Regions from separate parts of the Homo sapiens genome. Here region 2 is linked to region 1. The links are contacts of gene promoters, found by promoter capture Hi-C in blood cells and fetal thymus (Javierre and others, 2016). All regions are on one chromosome and are shown on one strand. Each heading gives the region's core, a stretch centred on a gene start or on the middle of the fragment in contact. The rest is flanking DNA. Distances are from core to core; before and after follow the strand shown.

Evidence for each region. The method cuts DNA at HindIII sites, captures the fragments that hold promoters and counts their contacts. A CHiCAGO score of 5 or more calls a contact.
Region 2: a fragment that was not itself captured here is called in contact with the fragment with the promoter of MAGED2 in region 1 in 1 of 17 cell types (activated CD4 T cells); the score reaches 5.5 in activated CD4 T cells.

The regions. Positions count from the first base shown.
Region 1 is chrX:54,804,206-54,808,994 of GRCh38, forward strand. It overlaps MAGED2 (MAGE family member D2), which reads left to right and starts at 3,540. Exons shown (of 13, transcript NM_177433.3): 1 at 3,540-3,597. The HindIII fragment of the contact is 6,434 bases long and covers 1-4,789 here.
Region 2 is chrX:54,411,040-54,415,828 of GRCh38, forward strand. No RefSeq gene overlaps it. Among named protein-coding and RNA genes, the nearest start is that of TSR2, 27 kb to the right of the region's middle. The HindIII fragment of the contact is 1,814 bases long and covers 1,424-3,237 here.

The DNA.
Region 1 (4,789 bases), core at 2,290-4,789:
TGACTCTGTATTCCTTTAAATTACCCCAGGATCCCAAAGACCACAACTGGGACCTAAAACATTGTGAAACTTAAAATGTTGGAGGTTGTAACCGAGCATAGATATACCAGAAGGGTAGTTGTAGCAGAGGGTGTTCCCCATGGGGACAAAATTGCATAACAAAGGCTCCTAGGCAAGAGAAGGCAGGGCATATCTGGTAATAGTGAAGTGTTCTGTTTAGGTGGAATATAGGCAACTATATCTAGTACTCTCAGAAAAACAGCAGGAAAAGGGCTGGAAAAGCAGTCAGGGCTGGATTTTGGGAGAGCCTTGAAATCAAGCTCAGGCGTTTCTTGGGAAAGCATTCCATACCCATTGTCATGTATACCTCACCTGCTATTCATATCTCAACTCACTGCAATCAGGAAACTGTTGCATGGAATAGACTCTGAAATAACAATAGCTTAAATAAGACATACATCTATTTGCCTCACCTAAAAGAAATCCAGAGGTAGGCAGTTCACGTTGGCTTCATGAAATTGTTACGGATCCAGGTTCTTTTTAGTTTACTAATCCAGTATCCTTAGAGTGTGACCCTAGTCCTCATGGCCTTTATTCTGGGAGGCTATGTATCTAGCTAAAAATCAGGTGACTTATTACTAAGGAAGAAGAGGAGGATGAATACTAGGGTAAGCAATTAGCAAGCTATGCCACAAACATGTGCACTGAAACTATTCCTTCCAAGGTCACCAGAGACCACCACTTGATCGTCAAAATCCCCAGACATTTTTTCAGGTCTTACTTTTCTTGATTCTTGGCACCATTCATCACTATTGACCTTGACTCCTCCCTCCTTTTGAAACAATCTCTTCCCTTACTTTTGTGACACTCCTTTCTCCGGTTTTTTTTTTTGTGTTTGTTTGTTTGTTTTTTTTGATGGTGTCTCACTCTATCACCCAGGCTGGAGTGCAGCGGCACAATCTCGGCTCACTGTAACCTCTATCTCCCAGGTTCAAGCGATTCTCCTGCCTCAGCTTCCCGAGTAGCTGAGACTACAGGTGTGGTCCACCACACCCAGCTAAATTTTTGTATTTTTAGTAGAGATGGGGTTTCACCGTGTTGACCAGGCTGGTCCTGAACTCCTGACCTCAGGTGATCTGCCCACCTCAGCCTCCCAAAGTGCTGGGATTACAGGTGTGAGCCACCATGCCCGGCCCTCTCCTGTTTTTCTCTCTGCCTCTTTGGTCACTCCTTATCAGCCTCTTTCATGAGTTTCTTTTCCTCCACCTATACCAAAGATGCTGTTGGACTGCAGGGCTCTTCCGTGGGCCCATGTCTCTTCTAGCACTACGCATTCACCGGGGTGCTGTTACCCTTTCTCAGGAATTCAAGAACTATTTATGTACTGATGACTCCTAGATCTATAACCTCAGCCTAGACCACTTCTCTGAGCTTCAGATATGTATATTCAACTGCCTGTGGTACATTTCCACCTGGACATGCCACAGGTGCCTCAAAAGCAATGTTCAGTTCTTGTCTAACCTGCTCCTCAAACCCGCTCTTCCTTCAGTATTCCTGATCTCAGTGAAAGGGGTTACCATTCACACAATCTCTCAAATCAGATCGCCAAGAGTTCCCTTTGACACTCCCCTCCTCCTTGCCCTTCTCTTCACAATCCAGTTACTCAAGTCCAGTTACTTTTTACTTCTTTACTATCTCCTCGATTCAATCACTTCTCACTATCTGCCACCACTCTAGGCCAAAGCACAATCATTGCTTACCTAGATGACTACAAAAGTCATAAGCACTCTCCCTGTTTCCAAGACAACACCTAATCCACACTCCATATAGCAGCTAGGTGTTCTTTCTAAAACACAAACCTATGCTGTATCCTTGCCTAGAATTCTTTAGTAACTCCTGGGTGCTCTCAGGATCAACACCAAAGTCCTCATCTTGGCATTCTAAACTTGCCAACTTGCCATGATTTGGAAGGGGTGGGGAATTTGAGATGCCAGAAGTAGAAGAAAAGGAGGGGCTATGTCTAGTGTGGATAAGGGAGAAAATCTAGGAGGCAAGAACATGGTGAACTGATATCACACACTTGGAGAAAGCAATAATTCAGAGAAAGAGAAAAGACAGGAAAACAGAAGCCTGCCTTGAATATGCAAGAAATTTGTGTGTTTGTCTATCTTGAATTATCCATGGAACACAGGGATTCATTATATGTTATTTACATAGTAAAAGGTGACCACATAAAGCAGAAGACTTGTGTCCATTTGAATTACATTTATATGTGGAAAGGCACTGAATATTATTTCTGCAACTAACAGTTGTGCTGAATTTTATTATGGTTTCTAATAACTTTTTAGTTGATGCTCTTGGGTTTTCCAGGTCTGCATTTATATATTCAGTAATTAATGATGATTTGTCTATTTCCTATTATTTTACATCTTATTTTGTTCTCTTGAACAGATCCAATTGGTTATGTGAATTTATTATGTGATAGAGGTGCCATTTCAAAGCAGAGAGGGAAAAGATGGATTAGTTTGCACATGATGTAGAGGTAAGAGACTATGATTTTGAAGAGTAATCAAGCTGAATCCGTATAGAAAATAAATTTTGAAATGATCAAACATCTAAATGTAAATAATAAAGCCACAAAAGTGCTTGAAAAAAAAAACGGGGTTTGTTATAGGAGTGTGAAAAGCATCTTTAAGCAAGCAGCAGAATCCAGTTGTGATGAAGGAAAAATGGATATATTTGACTACATAATAATTAAACATTTTTGTTTGGCAAAAATTATCATAAATAACATGAAAAATATTTGTAATATGTGACATGTACAGGAGAGACATTGCTGGCGGGAATGTTATCCATTTACTTTTTAGGAGTAAGTTGACAAATTTTGCATCAAAATGGAAGACTTTTTTGTAGCATTTGAGCTAGCAAAAAATACCATAAATAACAAAAAGTGCACCAAGCAATCTAAATGTACATGTGTACTGGACTGGTTCAATAAATTATGGGACATCTATGCAAGAAAAGATCATGCAGCTGTTTAGAAAAATGTGCACTAACGGAAAGATGTTTTATATATAACTGGAAAAAAACAGGTCGCAGAACAGAAGGTATGTATAGTGTACCATTTGTCGGAGAGAGAACCTGAATAATTAGTATACGAATAGAAAAAAAATCTGGATAGCAAAATGTTAATAGTGGTTATTTCTGGGAGATGAGTGGCCTTTCATTGGTGTGTTATATATTACTGCATTGTTTGAATTTTTACAACAACAACAAAAGAACAACATATTACCTTTGTAATAAGAAAAAATGAAGATATAAAAATAAATTCAATGAATGACTTGCTTTCAGGGGGCGGTTTGAGTTGGAAGAGCTTCAGACTGAGCCTGGTACAGTGGCATAAACATGGGCTTTGGCGTCAGACAGCCCTGAGCGGGGCCCCATTGCCCCACCCCCGAGGAAGGCGAGGGGGGGTGGCAGGGGGCTGCGGAAAGGGGCTGGGCTGGGTTGGGCTGTCTGCAGCTCTAGTCCAGGAGGCTGAGACTTCGAGAGGGACTTAGAGAAGGCAGACGCATCCCGAACTCGCTGGAGGACAAGGTGAGGGGCGTTGATATTGGGGTTTTATGGAGGTCAGACAGTGGTTCCAGACCCCTCGAACCCATAGCCAGGCAGATGAGCAATTCTTACTGCACCACTGCAGCTGAAGCAGAGGTGACCTGGAGTGGGGTGTAGGCAATGAGGACGACTGAGAAAGTAGTAGGCTGTACAGACTGGGAGCAGAGACTAGCGGAGGGAGGAGGGGAGAAAAACGGGGAACCAGGAATGTTGGGAGGGGGACGAGGAATACAAGGAGGGAGGGGAACACTGAGGGGGAGTGAAGATCCAGAGAAGAGAATCGGGGATGCAGAGAGGGATTAAGGAATACTGAGGGGCAGGGTGTGCAAACGTAACACGGAGGAGGATGTAAGAAATGGGAAGAAGGAATTCTGGAGTAAATAGGAAATGTGAGGTAGGAATAGGGAGTAGGGAGCCAGGCTAAGGGAATACGGAGGGGGGCATAAGGAATGAGGAGCAGGGAGCGGGGGAGGGGCAGACAGGCTGGGACGGAGGCCCCCTAGGGAGGCGGAAAGGGGCGGGACCACTTCCGGCCTAGAGAGGGGAGGGCAGTCTCCGAGTTTCGGAGGGGCTTGGAGTGAGTGGACGCACTCGGGAATTGTAGGAGGACGAGGTGAGCAGCCGGGTCGGCTTTTGGATGAGAGCCCCGCTAGGGGTCGGCCCCACCCTCTGGGATCTGGAGAAAACCTGCCTTAAGGACCGGATCGTACCGGATCCATCCGGCTGGGAAGGGAGGGGACTGGACCCGGTTTGGCCGGGCCCAAGATGGAATCACTAGCTCAGTATTTATTTGAGGAGGGGGTGTAATAGGGAAGGGGCGGAACCAAGATGCGCCTGTTTGGAGGGGGGCGTGTTAGGAAGAAGGGCGGGGCCAAGAGACACTGGACTCTGTAGGGCGTGAGTAGGGGAGGGGCCGGGTCCACCAGACACTGCGACAATTTTGGAGGAAGGCTTGTTGGGCAGGGGGCGGGACCGAATGGTACTGCGGACCTGGAGAGGGGCGTGTGTTGGGGCAGAGTGCCAGACTGAGACCACGACCATTGCGCATGCGCACTATGTTTCGCTAGAAAGGGGCGTGTTGAGAAGGGCCAGCACTGAGAAGAGCCAGCTGCTGAATGCGCATGTGCACGGTGGACATCAAAGAAAGGGCTCGTGCTGGGAAAGCGGGCGGGGC
Region 2 (4,789 bases), core at 1,081-3,580, 390 kb before region 1:
GCCATTCTCCTGCCTCAGCCTCCGGAGTAGCTGGGACTACAGGCGCCTGCCACCATGCCTGGCTAATTTTTTTTTATTTTTAGTAGAAACAGGGTTTCACCGTGTTAGCCAGGATGGTGTCGATCTCCTGACCTCATGATCCACCCGCCTCAGCCTCCCAAAGTGCTGGGATTACAGGCGTAAGCCACCGTGCCCGGACAGGATTCTAAACAATTTTAAAGGATTTTTTTTTTTTTGAGATGAAGTCTCACTCTGTCGCCCAGGCTGGAGTGCAGTGGTGTGATCTTGGCTCACTGTAACCTCTGCTTCCCGGGTTCAAGCGATTCTCCTGCCTCAGCCTCCCGAGTAGCTGGGATTACAGGCGTGCGCCACCACGCCCAGCTAATTTTTGTATTTTTAGTAGAGACGGGGTTTCACCATGTTGGCCAACGTCGTCTCGAACTCCTGACCCCATGATCCTCCCGCCTTGGCCTCCCAAAGTGCTAGGATTACAGGCGTGAGCCACTGCGACTGGCCTAAATGATTTTTTAACTGAAAAAGCTTTAAAGAAAAATTCCCCCAGAAGAGATTCATCTTCAACTTGGTGGGAGATGGACTCTATAGCCTCCTTGCTTCCCACAAAAGGACATAAATATTACTTAACTTTACATTTTATTAGGTATTTAAGTAAAAACATAAGTAAATAAATGTATATACTACTTGACCAGTTTTAACACTCAGTGTGGCTTTGGCTTTGCATTTCCTGCAAGGATGGCCATACCAGCCAATACCTTTAAACATCCCCCCTTCCACTTCCTCATGGAAATTGTCAAGTGGTTGCTTCAGACTGAGGCTCCCACTTCATCGCCTAAAAACATGACAGTTGTTCTTTTTGGGGGCTATCCAATTTCATACTTTCCACTGTGTGCAGTCTTGGCAAGAGGGGAATTCCTAACACCTGCTTCACACTGCAGGCTCCCATTACAAAAACTGAAGGGGCCAGATCTTTTCTTTACCTGATCCCTGGTATAGACATGGTATGGGCACTTGACCCAAATTTGGCTCACTCTTAGGACTTTGATGCAATGATGGAAGAAATTTTGGAAGTAAGACTGTTCCCTGAAATTTCAATGATATCACAAATACTTTTTCCTTCCCATTCCTCCAGATAAAGAATCAAAAGAACTTGTGCTCTGGGCTCTATTGTGGGCCTCATAGAACCTAGGATATCCTAAGTCTGTTCCCTAAGTATCAGCTTTATTCCCCAGTGTGTGTGAGTCTATTATAGGGGACCCCTAGCCGAGGCTGCACTTCTGGTTATCAGAGAAAAGTCATAGATTGATTCATTCAACAAAAACTTATTCAGTACCTGCTTTGGGTCAGGCACTGTTCTAGATGCTGTGATACAATACTGTACAAGACAGACATGTTCTCAGCTCTCATAAGCTTACATTCCAGTGGGCAAGACAGATAATAAATAAACACATTCAGAGAGTAATAAGTTATATGAAGAAAATAAAACATGAAAAAGTAATAGAGTGGTACATTGGGGGTGGAGTGGGGAAGACAGCATTAAATAAAGTAGATGGGGAAGGCCTATTTAAAGAGATGACATTTGAGCTGAGACCTGAAGCATAAGGAATCAGTGCTGTGGATATCTAGAGGAAAATAATTCCAGGCAAAAGAAAAAGCAAGTATAAAAACCCTAGATGGGATGAGTTTAATATGTTTAAGAAACAGAAACAAGGCCAGTGTGGCTGGGGTAGAGCTAATGGGAGGTAGGAAGTCATATTGGAGAAATTGCTTAACGATGGGAACACATTAAAGAAAAAAGAAAAGTTCAGAGTTATTGAGAGGCCAGATCATGTGTGGTCTTATAGACTACTATAAGGACTTTGATTTCTTTTCTTTTTTTTTTTTTGAAATGGAGTCTCACTCTGTCATCCAGGCTGGAGTGCAGTGGCACGATCTCAGCTCACTGCAACCTCTGCCTCCCAGGTTCAAGCAATTCTCTTGCCTCAGCCTCCCGAGTAGCTGGGATTACAGGCGCCCACCACCATGCCTTGCTAATTTTTTTTTTTTTTTTTTTTTTAGTAGAGACAGGGTTTCGCCATGTTGGCCAGGCTGGTCTCGAACTCCTGACCTCAGGTGATCCGCTTGCCTCCGCCTCCCAAAGTGTTGGGGTGACAGGCATGAGCCACTGAGTCCCGCCAGGACTTTGATTTTGACTCTGAGTGAGGTGGGAGCCATAGGAGGATTTTTAACAGGGGAGGGATTTGACTTTGCTTTACACAGGACACCTCTGGTTGCCTACTAAACTATAGGGGGCAAAGGTGGAAGTGGGAACAGGGTTGCTTTAAGTGCTGTTTGTCTATCATTGTGTGACTTTGAAAAGGTGCTTCCTCTGGGTGGACATAGCCCCATGGCACTTGGCTTGGAAAGAAGGGCCCTTGTCACCGGGCACAGTGGCTCATGCCTGTAATCCCAGCCCTTTGGGAGGCTGAGGCGGGCGGATCACGAAGTCAGGAGTTCAAGACCAGCCTGGCCAATATGGTGAAACCCCATCTCTACTAAAAATACAAAAAAAAAAAAATTAGCTGGGCGTGGTGGTGCGCACCTGTAATCCCAGCTACTTGGGAGGCTGAGGCAGAAGAATTGCTTGAACCAGGGAGTCAGAGGTTGTAGTGAGCCAAGATTGTGCTACTGCACTCCAGCCTGGCGACAGAGCAAGACTCCGTCTCAAAAAAAAAAAAAAAAAAAAAGAAAAAAGAAAGGGCCCTTGTCTAAAGAGAAAGATGCCTCTTCCTCCTGCAGGTGTAGCCCCACACCAGGGTTCATGGCTTGGCACTAGAGTACAGGCTGGATTTCAGCCCCTACTGGGCCCCTTAGCCAGATGTCCTTGTGCAATGCACAAACCACAGAACTGTCTGCGGCCTCGATCAAAGAGACTGGTAGAAGGCTGTTTTGGCAATGCAGATGAGAGATGATGATGGCTTGGATCAGGGTGGTAGTGGGGTGGAGGGAGGCAAATGCACAAGGGAAATGCTGAGAATATCCTTAGCCCTGAGTTTCAGTCCTAGCTCTGGGAAGAATGGAGTGTTATTGCTTCTCTAAGAACAGCTGTAACATCCACCAAACATGTGGGTTCAGACTCATTCTGGCCCTAAGCAATTCCCCAAAGGGAGAAGTTAGGGTGGTTACTCTGGGAATTGTGGGGAGGGTTTCTCTCCTCATGGAAAGATGCCATAGCCCCCAGAAAGCTTTGGCTCCCAGGAAGGTTGGCAGCCAATAGGCTGTGCTCTCAAGGGAGTCCAGGAGCAGTTGTGCTTCTGTGTAAATTGTGCAATATGAGGATATTAATTTGTCATAATGATCGAATATATGTTCCAAGCAGCTAGATTGGGCTTGGCAGTTAGTGGACACACAGAATTCTTCAGCCCTAGCCCTAGTTCCTCCATGGACTCACTGAGGAATCTTAGACAAATCGTTTCCCCTTTCTGAGACATAGTTTCTTCATTTGTACCATGTGAGTAATATTCCCTGCAAATAAAAGGTTTTTGGAGCAAATGGAATGAAACCGTGGATGTGAGGGAAACTATTGGAAAGCTGGCCATATAATTGCGGGTATCGTGATGTTGCAGTGCCTCTTTCTCTCCTAACTGTCCCCTTAGTCCAGTTCTCATCCTTTTTGCCAGGACTTCTAGAAGAGCTCCCAGCTGGTTGCCCTGCCTTTGGTCTCCTTGTTGGCTCACCTGGTCTTCCTGAACCTTAAATTTCCTGAAAAAAACCTTTTTTTTGGTGTTTTTTTTGTTTGTTTTTTTTATTTTTTGAGACGGAGTCTCGCTTTGTTGCCCAGGCTGGAGTGTAATGGTGCAATCTCGGCTCATTGCAACCTCCGCCTCCCAGTTACAGCGATTCTCCTACCTCAGCCTCCTGAGTAGCTGGGACTACAGGCGCAGGTCACCATGCCCAGCTAATTTTTGTTTCTGTTTTTGTTTTGAGAGGGCGTCTTGCTCTGTCGCCCAGGCTGGAGTGCAGTGGCTCAATCTCTGCTCACTGCAGGCTCCGCCTCCCGGGTTCACACCATTCTCCCGCCTCAGCCTACCAAGTAGCTGGGACTACAGGTGCCTGCTACCACGCCTGGCTAATTTTTGTGTTTTTAGTAGAGATGGGGTTTCACCGTGTTAACTAGGATGGTCTCAATCTCCTGACCTAGTGATCCGCCCACCTCGGCCTCCCAAAGTGCTGGGATTACAGGCGTGAGCCACCATGCCCGGCTGATTTTTGTATTTTTAGTAGAGACGGGGTTTCACCATATTGGCCAGGATGGTCTCGAACTCCTGACCTCAGGTGATCCACCCACCTCGGCCTCCCAAAGTGCTGGGATTACAGACGTGAGCCACCGCACCCGGCCAAGCCCCCAGATTTATAAGGGGAGGCAACAGCTAGGTGCATTGCAAGGATGTGGACAGAACAGAAATGATGTTGTCCTAAGAAAGGTTAGTTGGGTGGTACTCAGACCACTGTGATCCTTCCCCAGGAGGGTTAGAGGAGACTGTTCCATCCACTTTTCTTTCCCCTTTCTTTTCTTCTTTTTTCTTCTGTTTCTCCTTCCCTTTGTTTTTCTTTGTCCTTTCCTCCTTCCTCGCCACCCTCTGTGCTGTCCCCTTTCTCTCTCTCTGTGATGCAGATTACTGCTTTGCTGTCTCTCTTCTCCCTCCCTTTGATGGGTTGGTCTTTGGGTCTGCCTGCTCCTGTCCTCTCTTGTCCCCCTGACCCCCTGCCCTGCCTCCAGTGCCCTATGGTTCCA